Regions from separate parts of the Homo sapiens genome. Here regions 1 and 2 are each linked to region 3. The links are contacts of gene promoters, found by promoter capture Hi-C in human tissues and cell types (Jung and others, 2019). All regions are on one chromosome and are shown on one strand. Each heading gives the region's core, a stretch centred on a gene start or on the middle of the fragment in contact. The rest is flanking DNA. Distances are from core to core; before and after follow the strand shown. Region 1 overlaps ABRAXAS1 (abraxas 1, BRCA1 A complex subunit). Region 2 overlaps GPAT3 (glycerol-3-phosphate acyltransferase 3). Region 3 holds the start of HPSE (heparanase).

Region 1 (3,846 bases), core at 184-2,683, 130 kb before region 3:
AAGTTTTTCACCTTATCATTAAAATGGTTTTGTGTATTTGCCTGAGGAAATGGTAATTTTTTACAGCTCTAAATTTTTTGAAGAAGATGGATCCTTAAAGGAGGTACATAAGATAAATGAAATGTATGCTTCATTACAAGAGGAATTAAAGGTAAGTTAACATATCAAACACGTCAACCACTTCTAGATAGAGTTCATATCAAGTTAATGACTGACATTTTTTAGGATAACCTGACATCTTGATTAGATTTATACAGTTATGAGTTGCTTAATGAAGGCTATGTACCTTCTGAGAAATGTGTCATTAGGCAGTTTTATCATTGTGCAAACATATACTTACACAAACCTATATGTATTTTTACTTTTTAGTTTTCATAGGGAAAACCAAATGTCCCCAAATTATTATTGAATATCAGTCATTTCCCCTATTTGATCTGTAATGCCAATATCAAGTGCTATATATCAGCTTTCTATATGTGCTCCAATATAATCTTGTGAGACCCCATCATAGATGCTGTCCCTTGTTGAACGAGATGTCATTATTCCTTTAGCTTCATTGACTGAGTTGTATTTCTTCAGCTGTAGTTAACAAAGATTGCAATCTCAGTGGCTTACAACAACTATGGTTTAGTCTTGCTCACATTTTATCTTGGCTGTAGCTCTACTCCTTTTCTGAATGTCATCTTCATCCAGGATCCAGGCTGAAGGAGCAGCCCTTATTTGGGACATGTCCTCATGGCATAAGGCAAAGAGCAAGAAAGCTAGTGGAGCCAGGCGCAGTGGCTCACGCCTGTAATCCCAGCACTTTGGGAGGCCGAGGTGGGCGGATCACGAGATCAGGAGATCGAGACCATCCTGGCTAACACAGTGAAACCCCGTCTCTACTAAAAATACAAAAAAAATTAGCCGGGCATGGTGGTGGGCGCCTGTAGTCCCAGCTACTCGGGTGGCTGAGGCAGGAGAATGGCGTGAACCCAGGAGATGGAGCTTGCAGTGAGCCAAGATCGTGCCACTGCACTCCAGCCTGGGCAACAGAACGAGACTCCGTCTCAAAAAAAAAAAAAACTAGTGGAAATTCACAACAGCTCTTAAAACTTTGCTTAAAACGGCCATGTCACTTCTACTCACATTTCACTGGCCTGAACACATCACATGGTAATAGGCAGGGATATATAATCCTTCTTACAGAATAGAGGGAAGTATATTTGGGAACAGTATACTTCCCTCTACTTCATGTGTCAGTTCTTCTTCATGTGTCAGTTCAGGTCCTTTTAGAACTAGATGTCAAGATGGGATTATAAGTGCAGGAGATTTATTGGGCCTGAGAAGGATAAAGAAGAGGAAGAAAGAACAGGCAGGAAGAGCCTTCAGACAACACTGCAAGTCTGACCCCTGAGAAAGGAGAGGGGGATAAGAAGACAAGTGGTTAGGAAGAGTCTCAGACTGCAGCGCCATTTTAAGAACGTTCCACTAGGCTGATAGGGAGTCTTTGAGCAAAGTTGCCCGAAAATTGTTCTATAGGCATGGACTTGCACTAATACCTGCAGTGTGCTTAGTCATTGGCTAGGAACAGCCCAGGGGAAGTGTGGCTTAACACAGTGGTAGGTCCAAAGCTGGGGCTGTTAAGTCAACTATGCTTCCCCCAGTTGGAGATCTTACTAAGGAGTATATTTCCATGGCCACCACACTCATCAGTAGAGCACACTAACAGAAAAGCAGTTAAAATAAATATTTTGATTCATATTACACTACTTTTTCATATGAAACGGGAATTTTAGATGGTAAAAACATCCAGAATCTCACCATCTTATTTTTTAGAGACAGTGTCTTGCTCTGTTACCCAGGCTGGAGAGCAATGGCATGATCTCAGCTCACTACAACCACCACCTCTTGGGCTCAAGTGATCCTCCTCTTTCAGCCTCCAGAGTAGCTGAAACCACAGGTGTGCACCACTACACCCAGCTAATTTTTTGTATTTTGTGTAAAGACAGGATTTCACCATGTTGCCAGGCTGGTCTCCATCCCCTGCGCTCAAGCAATCCACCTTCCTTGGCCTCCCAAAGTACTGGGATTACAGGTGTGAGCCACCACATCCAGCCTGGAATCTCACCATTTTAACATAACTATTTTCACTCTGCCATTTGCTCCAGTTTTTCCTTAATATATGTATACTTTGATATAGTCAATAGTCATGGTGACATAAATTTGTCATGATTTTTAAAAAACTTGGTACATAAAACATTGTTTCTGTTGCTACATATTCTTTAGTTGTTTTTAGTTTCTTCTTTTTTTTTTTTTTTTTTTTGAGACAGAGTCTCAGTGTGTCGCCTGGACTGGAGTGCAATGAATGGCATGATCTTGGCTCACTGTAACCTCCGCCTCCCTGGTTCAAGAGATTCTCTTGTCTCAGCCTCCCAAGTAGCTGAGATTACACGCACCCACCACTACGCCAGGCTAATTTTTGTATTTTAAGTAGAGACAGGGTTTCGCCATGTTGGCCAGGTTGGTCTCGAACCCAAGACCTCAGGTTATCTACCTGCCTCAGCCTCCCAAAGTGCTGGGATCACAGGTGTGAGCCACCTTGCCCGGCCTCTTTATTTTTAATGGCAGTATATTTCATAGAGAATGTTATGGAAAAATACCAACTTGGGCTAAAATAGGGAATGTAGAGGTATATCATAAGAACTGTAGGCAGAAAGCAGCTGAACTTTAGGAAGGAATTGGAACCAGGAGCTAGAATGCCATAGAACTTTCTGTGTCTGCACATTGCTATCCTTCCAGACCTTTTTGTTTCTTCATCCACTGGCAGGCCAGAAAACAGCCAACCCACAGCTCCTGCATTTAGATCTCTTCTAGAGCATAAGATCTGCCAATTGGCTATGTAATACCTCCAGATTGCCAGGCAAGAATCTCATTGGTTCTGTTTGGGTCAGCTCTGGTGAAAGGTGGGTACAGGGGTAACTGGCAAACTCTTATGTCAGGGCAAAAAAAGTTTGTAAAAAGTAGGCTTGGCAGACATCCTAAAAAGTGTCCACTAAAACTGGCAAAACAACTATTACCCTACAGTTGGAAATTAGTTGCTTTTTTTACTAATTAGTTGTTCTCCCCTCCCCCAGTTGTTTTATGTTATACTAAGAAACATCATCTTATATTTTTGTTGTTATTCAGATATATTCCCAAATGGAATTATGGCATCAAAAGTTACTGGTATTCATACTTTTAAAACTAAAGACACACAGAAGTGATCTGCTTTTCAAAAGTAGTTTCTCTTACAGGAAAAAATCTTCAATAGTATCCTTTCGTAATAGTAAGATAGTCACTTTGTTTCACTTACTGTGAGTTTCTTAGTGTTAAATTTATGCAGTAACTCTGCATCTGTATTTTTTTTGTTTCAAAGTTTTTTTGTTTGTTTTTGTTTGAGACAGGGTCTCACTCTGTCGCCCAGGCTGGAGTGCAGTGGTGCAATTTTGGCTCACTGCAACCTCTGCTTCCTGGGTTCAAGCGATTCACCTGCCTCAGTCTCCTGAGTAGCTGGGACTACAGGCATGCATCACCACACCTGGATAATTTTTTATATTTTTAGTAGAGACAGGGTTTCACCATGTTGCCCAGGCTGGTCTCGAACTCCTGAGCTCAGGTAGTCTACCCACCTCAGCCTCCCAAAGTGCTGGGATTACAGGCGTGAGCCACCGCAGCTGGCCCATGAGTTAATATTTCAGTTTATTTCTGTATATTTTCAGCGAACTAACTGGCATGATAAAAGCTGTATAAATGAGAAGTTACATGTGAAAAAGCATTTTACAACCTATAAGGCTTATTTATAACCTACAAGTGCTTGTTACTGAC
Region 2 (3,397 bases), core at 721-3,220, 210 kb before region 3:
TGGTACTAAGTACCCCTGGATACCCAAGCACGAAATCAGGAGGGGAGCAAAGTTGCATACCATGCACAGCTGTGGGATTAGCAGAGACGAAAGCAGTACATATCAGAGCCGAAATTAGATCTCACACTGTCCTTTGCTTATGCACCTATTTCAGTATTTATCACAGTGGTCTGTCCAATGCCTATCTCCCCACAGGGACTATGTCTTAATCAACTTTGGATCCTTTGTCAGCCCTACATGTTGCAGTTGTTCAATAACTGTGAGAGTCAATTTCCAATTTAACAGGCTACAAGGAAGGGTAGACACTCTGAATGAAATATGACAAATTTTGCGGGTATCAGCATTACTCTAAAATACTATGATTTCTATTTTCTCCTCCTGTTCACTTCCATTCTTTCCTGGAGACACCATAGAAAAGACAAAGATCAAAAACAGAAAAAGCAGATATTTGACAAAGATTATAATAAAAATAGTAATCCAACAAGTATAAATATTCAAAAAGTTCTCATTTCTGTATAGGCAAAAAAAAAAAAAAAACTAAATCCACGCTACTAGACCCTCTCATCTACTGATTTTTTAATCCCATCACCTGCCAAATTGAAATACTTTGTGTCCTTTAAAACTCATGGCTGGGCCGGGTGCAATGGCTGATGCCTGTAATCCCAGCACTTTGGGAGGCCGAGGTGGGAGGATCGCTTGAGGTCAGTAGTTTGAGACCAGCCTGGCCAACATGGTGAAACCCCTTCTCTACTAAAAATACAAAAATTAGCCAGGCATGGTGGCGCACGCCTGTAGTCCCAGCTACTCAGGAGGCTGAGACAGGAAAATCACTTGAACCTGGGAGGCAGAGGTTACAGTGAGCCGACATCTCGCCACCGCACTCCAGCCTGGGGGACAGAGGGAGACTTTGTCTCAAAAGCAGAAAATTTAATTAATTTAATTTAATTTAAATAAGAAAATTAAATTAAATTAAAATTCATGGCCCAAAACATGTACCACAATCACCCCAATCTATTAAGGCCCACTGATTTTCTCTCAAGATCAACAGCTCAGAGTCTCACCAAGCACAACAGAAAACCAGCAACAAAGTTTGTTCTTTCCTTAAATCATAAGGACATACATTTTTTAATGAACCAGAATAATTTTTTTAAATGATAGAGCTGCTATATTTCAGAGAAGGTATCTGGCAATTAAAAAAAGGATAAAATATAGCCAGAAATATCCGGACTTGGTAAAAATGTGATTGGTGATAATATTTGGGTGTTTAAGTATACACCATGAAGCTCTACTAGTTGCTTCAATCATTTGAAAATCATAATCCAATTATACAAAAATACTCCAATGTTTTCAAATATTTTGTTATTTCCAAAACTCACTATAGAATACAATTTCTACAATTCCTTTTAGAAAAGCTTCCAGAAGATAAATTCCTTCCAGTAAAGTATTTGATAGTTTGACTTTTTTTTTTTTTTAAATGAGGTCTCACTGTATTGCCCAGGCCAGAGTGCAGTGGCATGATCACAGCTCACTACAGCCTCAACTTCCAGGGTTCAAGTGATCCTCCCACCTCAGGACCCCACTCTGAGTAGCTGGGACTACAGGTGCGCACCACCACACTCAGCTAATTTTTGTATTTTTTGTAGAGACAGGGTTTCGCCATGTTGCCCAGGCTGGTCTTGAACTCCTGAGCCCAAGCGATCTGCCGGCCTCAGCCTCCCACAGTGCTGGGATTATAGGCGTGAGCCACTGCACCTGGTCAAGCATGTTTCTTTATTGCAGGACTTTTCTGAGCCTTTATTAGTAGGCACTAATACTCTCCAAAGGCAAGTATAGTATGTGATGATTCCTAAACTTATTTCACGAGAAAATTATTTTTTATTTCATGTATTACCAATTAGCCTTCAGCAGAAAAGAGTACTTTGAGGAACATACTTTGAGAATCACAAGTTGGTTAACGAAACCTCAATAATAGGTTTTAACTCCCAGGAACTCCCATTAGCCTTTTTCTTTCTTTTTTTTTTTCTTTTGGCCATCGACTACATCTTTAAAACCACGGACAGCCATCTTCAAATACATGCCCTTAGAAAGGAAAACAATACCTATAAGAACATATAGATGAGCTAACACATATTACCACCTTTACAATAAAAAGTCCATGAAAACTCTGGCAGCTGCAATTTTACACTGACAGAATTATGAAAGATCCAAACCCTATAGAACACACTGCTCTCTGCATATTTCAAGTTCAAATTGGGTAGGTTTACATCCACCCAATTTAAATATGGTAACAATCATAATGAAAAGGAAAACTCACCAACAGAAGCAGAGTTTTTAAGAATCGACTCCTTTGGGGTTCCTTTTTCAATTCGTATTGTGGCCCACTGTTCAAAAACAAGAAATATTAATTTAAACTGTCCCACAGACACAACATAAAACACTTCAACCATGATTATACAGAAGTGAAATTACACATCAAGCTCTGGCAGTGTCTGAACTAAAGAGCTAACCCCAGGGAATCTCTGATATAGCAATATTCCAAGTCCCAAGTATACTTTTATATCACTTACTGATAATACCCTAATAAAATGTGGAAAGGACAATATTTACCCTTTCTCAACTGCCTCACATGCATTGGTGACCTGATAAATTACTCCTTGAAAAGGCTGTGAAGCATGGGGGGCATGAGTACAGGTCACGGCATCAAGAATGTCTGGGTTTGAAATTACTTATTCCCTATAGGCCTCCGTTTCCTCATTGTAAAACAAGGATAATAGATCCTATCCCATAGGGTTGCTGTCACATTAAACAAGATGACACATGTAAGGGCCTAAACGTAGGGCGTAAAGTGTAACAATTATTTTCACAACAAATTAGACATTCAGGGGTAGGACACGCTCAAAGATGCATCAGAAATAAGCTTGCAGAAAGAGGCAGCACAGACTTGGAAAGCTGGAAAGGACTCGATGAAATCATTAACTAAGGCACGATTGGCTCATGCCTGTAATCCCAGCACTTTGGGAGGCCGAGGAGGGTGGATCACTTGAGGTCAGGAGTTCAAGACTAGCCTGGCCAACATGGCGAAACCCCATCTCTACTAAAAATACAAAAATTAGCCAGGCATGGTGACGCATGCCTGTAATCCTAGCTACTCTGGAGGCTGAAACAGAATTGCTTGAACCAGGGAGGAAGAAGGTGCAGTGAGCAGAGATCGGGCACCTGCACTCCAGTCTAGGCAACAGAGTGAGACTCTCTCAAAAAAACAAAAAAACAAAAAAAAAGAATGAAAAAGAAATCATGAACTACGGAAAATGATCTGTCCACATGGTTACTTATGAAGATGCATAGGAAAATGTTACAATTATGAAGATCTACAGATTTGAGGGAATTTAAGAACTGG
Region 3 (3,610 bases), core at 758-3,257:
GTAAGATTAATGTCATGACAAATGTGGAAAAGAAACTTCTGTTTTTCCAACTCCACGTCTGCTACCATATTATTACACTCTTCTGGTAGTGTGGTGTTTATGTGTGAATTTTTTTTCATATGTATACAGTAATTGTAGGATATGAACCTGATTCTAGTTGCAAAACTCACTATGAGCTTAGCTTTTAAGTTGCTTAAGAATAGGTAGATCTATGCAAATAATGATAATTATTATTATTATTTTAAGAGAGGGTCTCACTTTGTCACCCAGGCTGGAGTGCAGTGGTGTGATTAAGGGTCACTGCAACCTCCACCTCCCAGGCTCAAATAAACCTCCCACCTCAGCCTCCCCAGTAGCTGGAACCACAGGCACGGGCCACCACGCCTGGCTAATTTTTTGTATTTTTTGTAGAGATGGGGTTTCATCATGTTGCCCAGGCTGTTCTTGAATTCCTCGGCTCAAGCAATCCTCCCACCTTGGCCTCCCAAAATGCTGGCATCACAGGCATGATGGCATCACTGGCATCACATACCATGCCTGGCCTGATTTATGCAAATTAGATATGCATTTCAAAATAATCTATTTTTATTTGTTGCCTTATTGGTGGTACAATCTCAAGTGGAAAAATCTAAGGGTTTTGGTGTTATTTGCTTACTCAACCAATATTTATTAGACTCTTACTAAGCACCAACATGATCACATGCCTGAGCTATGGCTAGCATAGCGTGTGAGACAAACTTAATCTCTGTTTTGGTGGAGCATATAATCTAGTAGATGAAGCCAATGTTGAGCAACATCACAATACTAACAAATTGAGGATGCTACGAGAGTGTCTAACAAATTGAGGATGCTACGAGAGTGTCTAACAAATTGAGGATGCTATGAGAGTGTGTCATGGAGAGCTGCCTGGAGATTGAGAGAAAGCTTCCTTGAGGGAAGTTACATTTCAGCTGAAACACACTGCCATCTGCTCGAGGTTTTGTAACTGCATTCACATCCCGATTCTGACACTTCACATCCCGATTCTGACACTTCACCCAGTTACTGTCTCAGAGCTTGGGTCCGCATGTGTAAAACAAGGACAGTATGCACTTGGCAGGGTTGTGAGAAGGGAAGAGAACACAAGTAAAGCACCTGTATCAGGCATACAGTAGGCACTAAGCGTGCGATGCTTGCTATGATTATACATCAGTGTAAGCATCAAGGAAAAGCTGAAGAAAAGTCTGACCAACAGCGAAAGATAAATGCGCAGAGGAGAAATTTGGCAAAGGCTCCAAATTCAGGGGCAGTCCGTACTCTACACTTTGTATGGGGGCTTCAGGTCCTGAGTTCCAGACATTGGAGCAACTAACCCTTTAAGATTGCTAAATATTGTCTTAATGAGAAGTTGATAAAGAATTTTGGGTGGTTGATCTCTTTCCAGCTGCAGTTTAGCGTATGCTGAGGCCAGATTTTTTCAAGCAAAAGTAAAATACCTGAGAAACTGCCTGGCCAGAGGACAATCAGATTTTGGCTGGCTCAAGTGACAAGCAAGTGTTTATAAGCTAGATGGGAGAGGAAGGGATGAATACTCCATTGGAGGTTTTACTCGAGGGTCAGAGGGATACCCGGCGCCATCAGAATGGGATCTGGGAGTCGGAAACGCTGGGTTCCCACGAGAGCGCGCAGAACACGTGCGTCAGGAAGCCTGGTCCGGGATGCCCAGCGCTGCTCCCCGGGCGCTCCTCCCCGGGCGCTCCTCCCCAGGCCTCCCGGGCGCTTGGATCCCGGCCATCTCCGCACCCTTCAAGTGGGTGTGGGTGATTTCGTAAGTGAACGTGACCGCCACCGAGGGGAAAGCGAGCAAGGAAGTAGGAGAGAGCCGGGCAGGCGGGGCGGGGTTGGATTGGGAGCAGTGGGAGGGATGCAGAAGAGGAGTGGGAGGGATGGAGGGCGCAGTGGGAGGGGTGAGGAGGCGTAACGGGGCGGAGGAAAGGAGAAAAGGGCGCTGGGGCTCGGCGGGAGGAAGTGCTAGAGCTCTCGACTCTCCGCTGCGCGGCAGCTGGCGGGGGGAGCAGCCAGGTGAGCCCAAGATGCTGCTGCGCTCGAAGCCTGCGCTGCCGCCGCCGCTGATGCTGCTGCTCCTGGGGCCGCTGGGTCCCCTCTCCCCTGGCGCCCTGCCCCGACCTGCGCAAGCACAGGACGTCGTGGACCTGGACTTCTTCACCCAGGAGCCGCTGCACCTGGTGAGCCCCTCGTTCCTGTCCGTCACCATTGACGCCAACCTGGCCACGGACCCGCGGTTCCTCATCCTCCTGGGGTAAGCGCCAGCCTCCTGGTCCTGTCCCCTTTCCTGTCCTCCTGACACCTATGTCTGCCCCGCCAGCCGCTCTCCTTCTTTTGCGCGGAAACAACTTCACACCGGAACCTCCCCGCCTGTCTCTCCCCACCCCACTTCCCGCCTCTCATTCTCCCTCTCCCTCCCTTACTCTCAGACCCCAAACTGCTTTTTGGGGGGTATCATTTAAAAAATAGATTTAGGGGTTACAAGTGCAGTTCTGTTCCATGGGTATATTGCATTGTGGTGGCATCTGGGCTCTTAGTGTAACTGTCACCCGAATGTTGTACATTGTATCTAATAGGTAATTTCTCATCCCTCATCCCTCTCCCACCCTCCCACCTTTTGGAGTCTCCAGTGTCTACTATTCCACTAAGTCCATGTGTACACATTGTTTAGCGCCCACTCTAAATGAGCCTTTTTGTTTCATTCATTCTGTAAGTGTTGAATAGGCACCACCTAAGGTCAGGTATAAGTGGAAATTTGAAAAAGAAACTGCCCACTTGCCCCAGTACTTCCCTAGCCAAGAGGAGGGAAACCAGGCAGGTGCACCTGAAGGCCTGTGAGTGCTTGATTTGCTGTGCAGTGTAGGACAAGTAAGATTGTGCATAGCCTTCTGTATTTAAGACTGTGTTAGGAAGATTTCTCTTTCTTTTCTTTTCTTTTTCTTTTTTCTTTTCTTTTTTTTTTTTTAGGCAGATGAAAAGGGCGTCACAGAACAGGAATAAAAATCTAAATATTCAATAAATGAGACCTAGGAGACTACTGCAGTGACTTACAAAGTCCTAATAAAAAGATGTCTCTCCAAAATGGGGCTGCAAAATGTGGTGCTGCCTTATCAGCTCTAAGTTTTTTCCTTACCTGAGAAAGAAGGAACCTGATGCAGGTTCAGGGCTCCTGCCCCATGAATGCAGGCTGACTCCAAGATGGGGAGCTACAGGGACAATCCCAGGTCTTCTAGGCCTCTTATTTAGGCCCTGGGAGCCTCCAGAGATGGCCACATCTTGACCAGCCCAGATAGAGGGAAAGATCACCATTATCTCACCTCTGTGTCAAATACCTAGATGCTGTCCTCCCTGAGCCCACACTATAGTTGCCAGCGCTAATTTAATGGGTAGTGTACTGGTTAAGAGATGGACAGACCATCCTGGCTTGACTCTCAGCTCTGGCAAAGATGAGTGACTTGGTTTTTCCATATCTCTTGGCCACACCAACCTTGATTTCTTCAGCTGTAGAATGGAATTTCTCAAGCTTGCCTCAAGGATTATTGCCCGAGGATTTGATGATATGGTA

The links. Contacts are between HindIII fragments. The study calls those that stand out against the background at their distance.
Region 1: a fragment that was not itself captured here is called in contact with the fragment with the promoter of HPSE in region 3 in 1 of the 25 tissues and cell types used here (neural progenitor cells).
Region 2: a contact is called between a fragment that was not itself captured here and the fragment with the promoter of HPSE in region 3, in 1 of the 25 tissues and cell types used here (bladder).

Annotation. Positions count from the first base shown.
Region 1 is chr4:83,463,759-83,467,604 of GRCh38, reverse strand. ABRAXAS1 (abraxas 1, BRCA1 A complex subunit) reads left to right here. Exons shown (of 9, transcript NM_139076.3): 7 at 67-151. Among named protein-coding and RNA genes, the nearest start is that of MRPS18C, 9.6 kb to the right of the region's middle. The HindIII fragment of the contact is 8,435 bases long and covers 1-3,846 here.
Region 2 is chr4:83,543,520-83,546,916 of GRCh38, reverse strand. GPAT3 (glycerol-3-phosphate acyltransferase 3) reads right to left here. Exons shown (of 12, transcript NM_032717.5): 2 at 2,315-2,381. Among named protein-coding and RNA genes, the nearest start is that of GPAT3, 9.1 kb to the right of the region's middle. The HindIII fragment of the contact is 3,605 bases long and covers 168-3,397 here.
Region 3 is chr4:83,333,245-83,336,854 of GRCh38, reverse strand. It overlaps HPSE (heparanase), which reads left to right and starts at 2,007. Exons shown (of 12, transcript NM_001098540.3): 1 at 2,007-2,299. The coding sequence starts at 2,073. The HindIII fragment of the contact is 4,578 bases long and covers 1-3,610 here.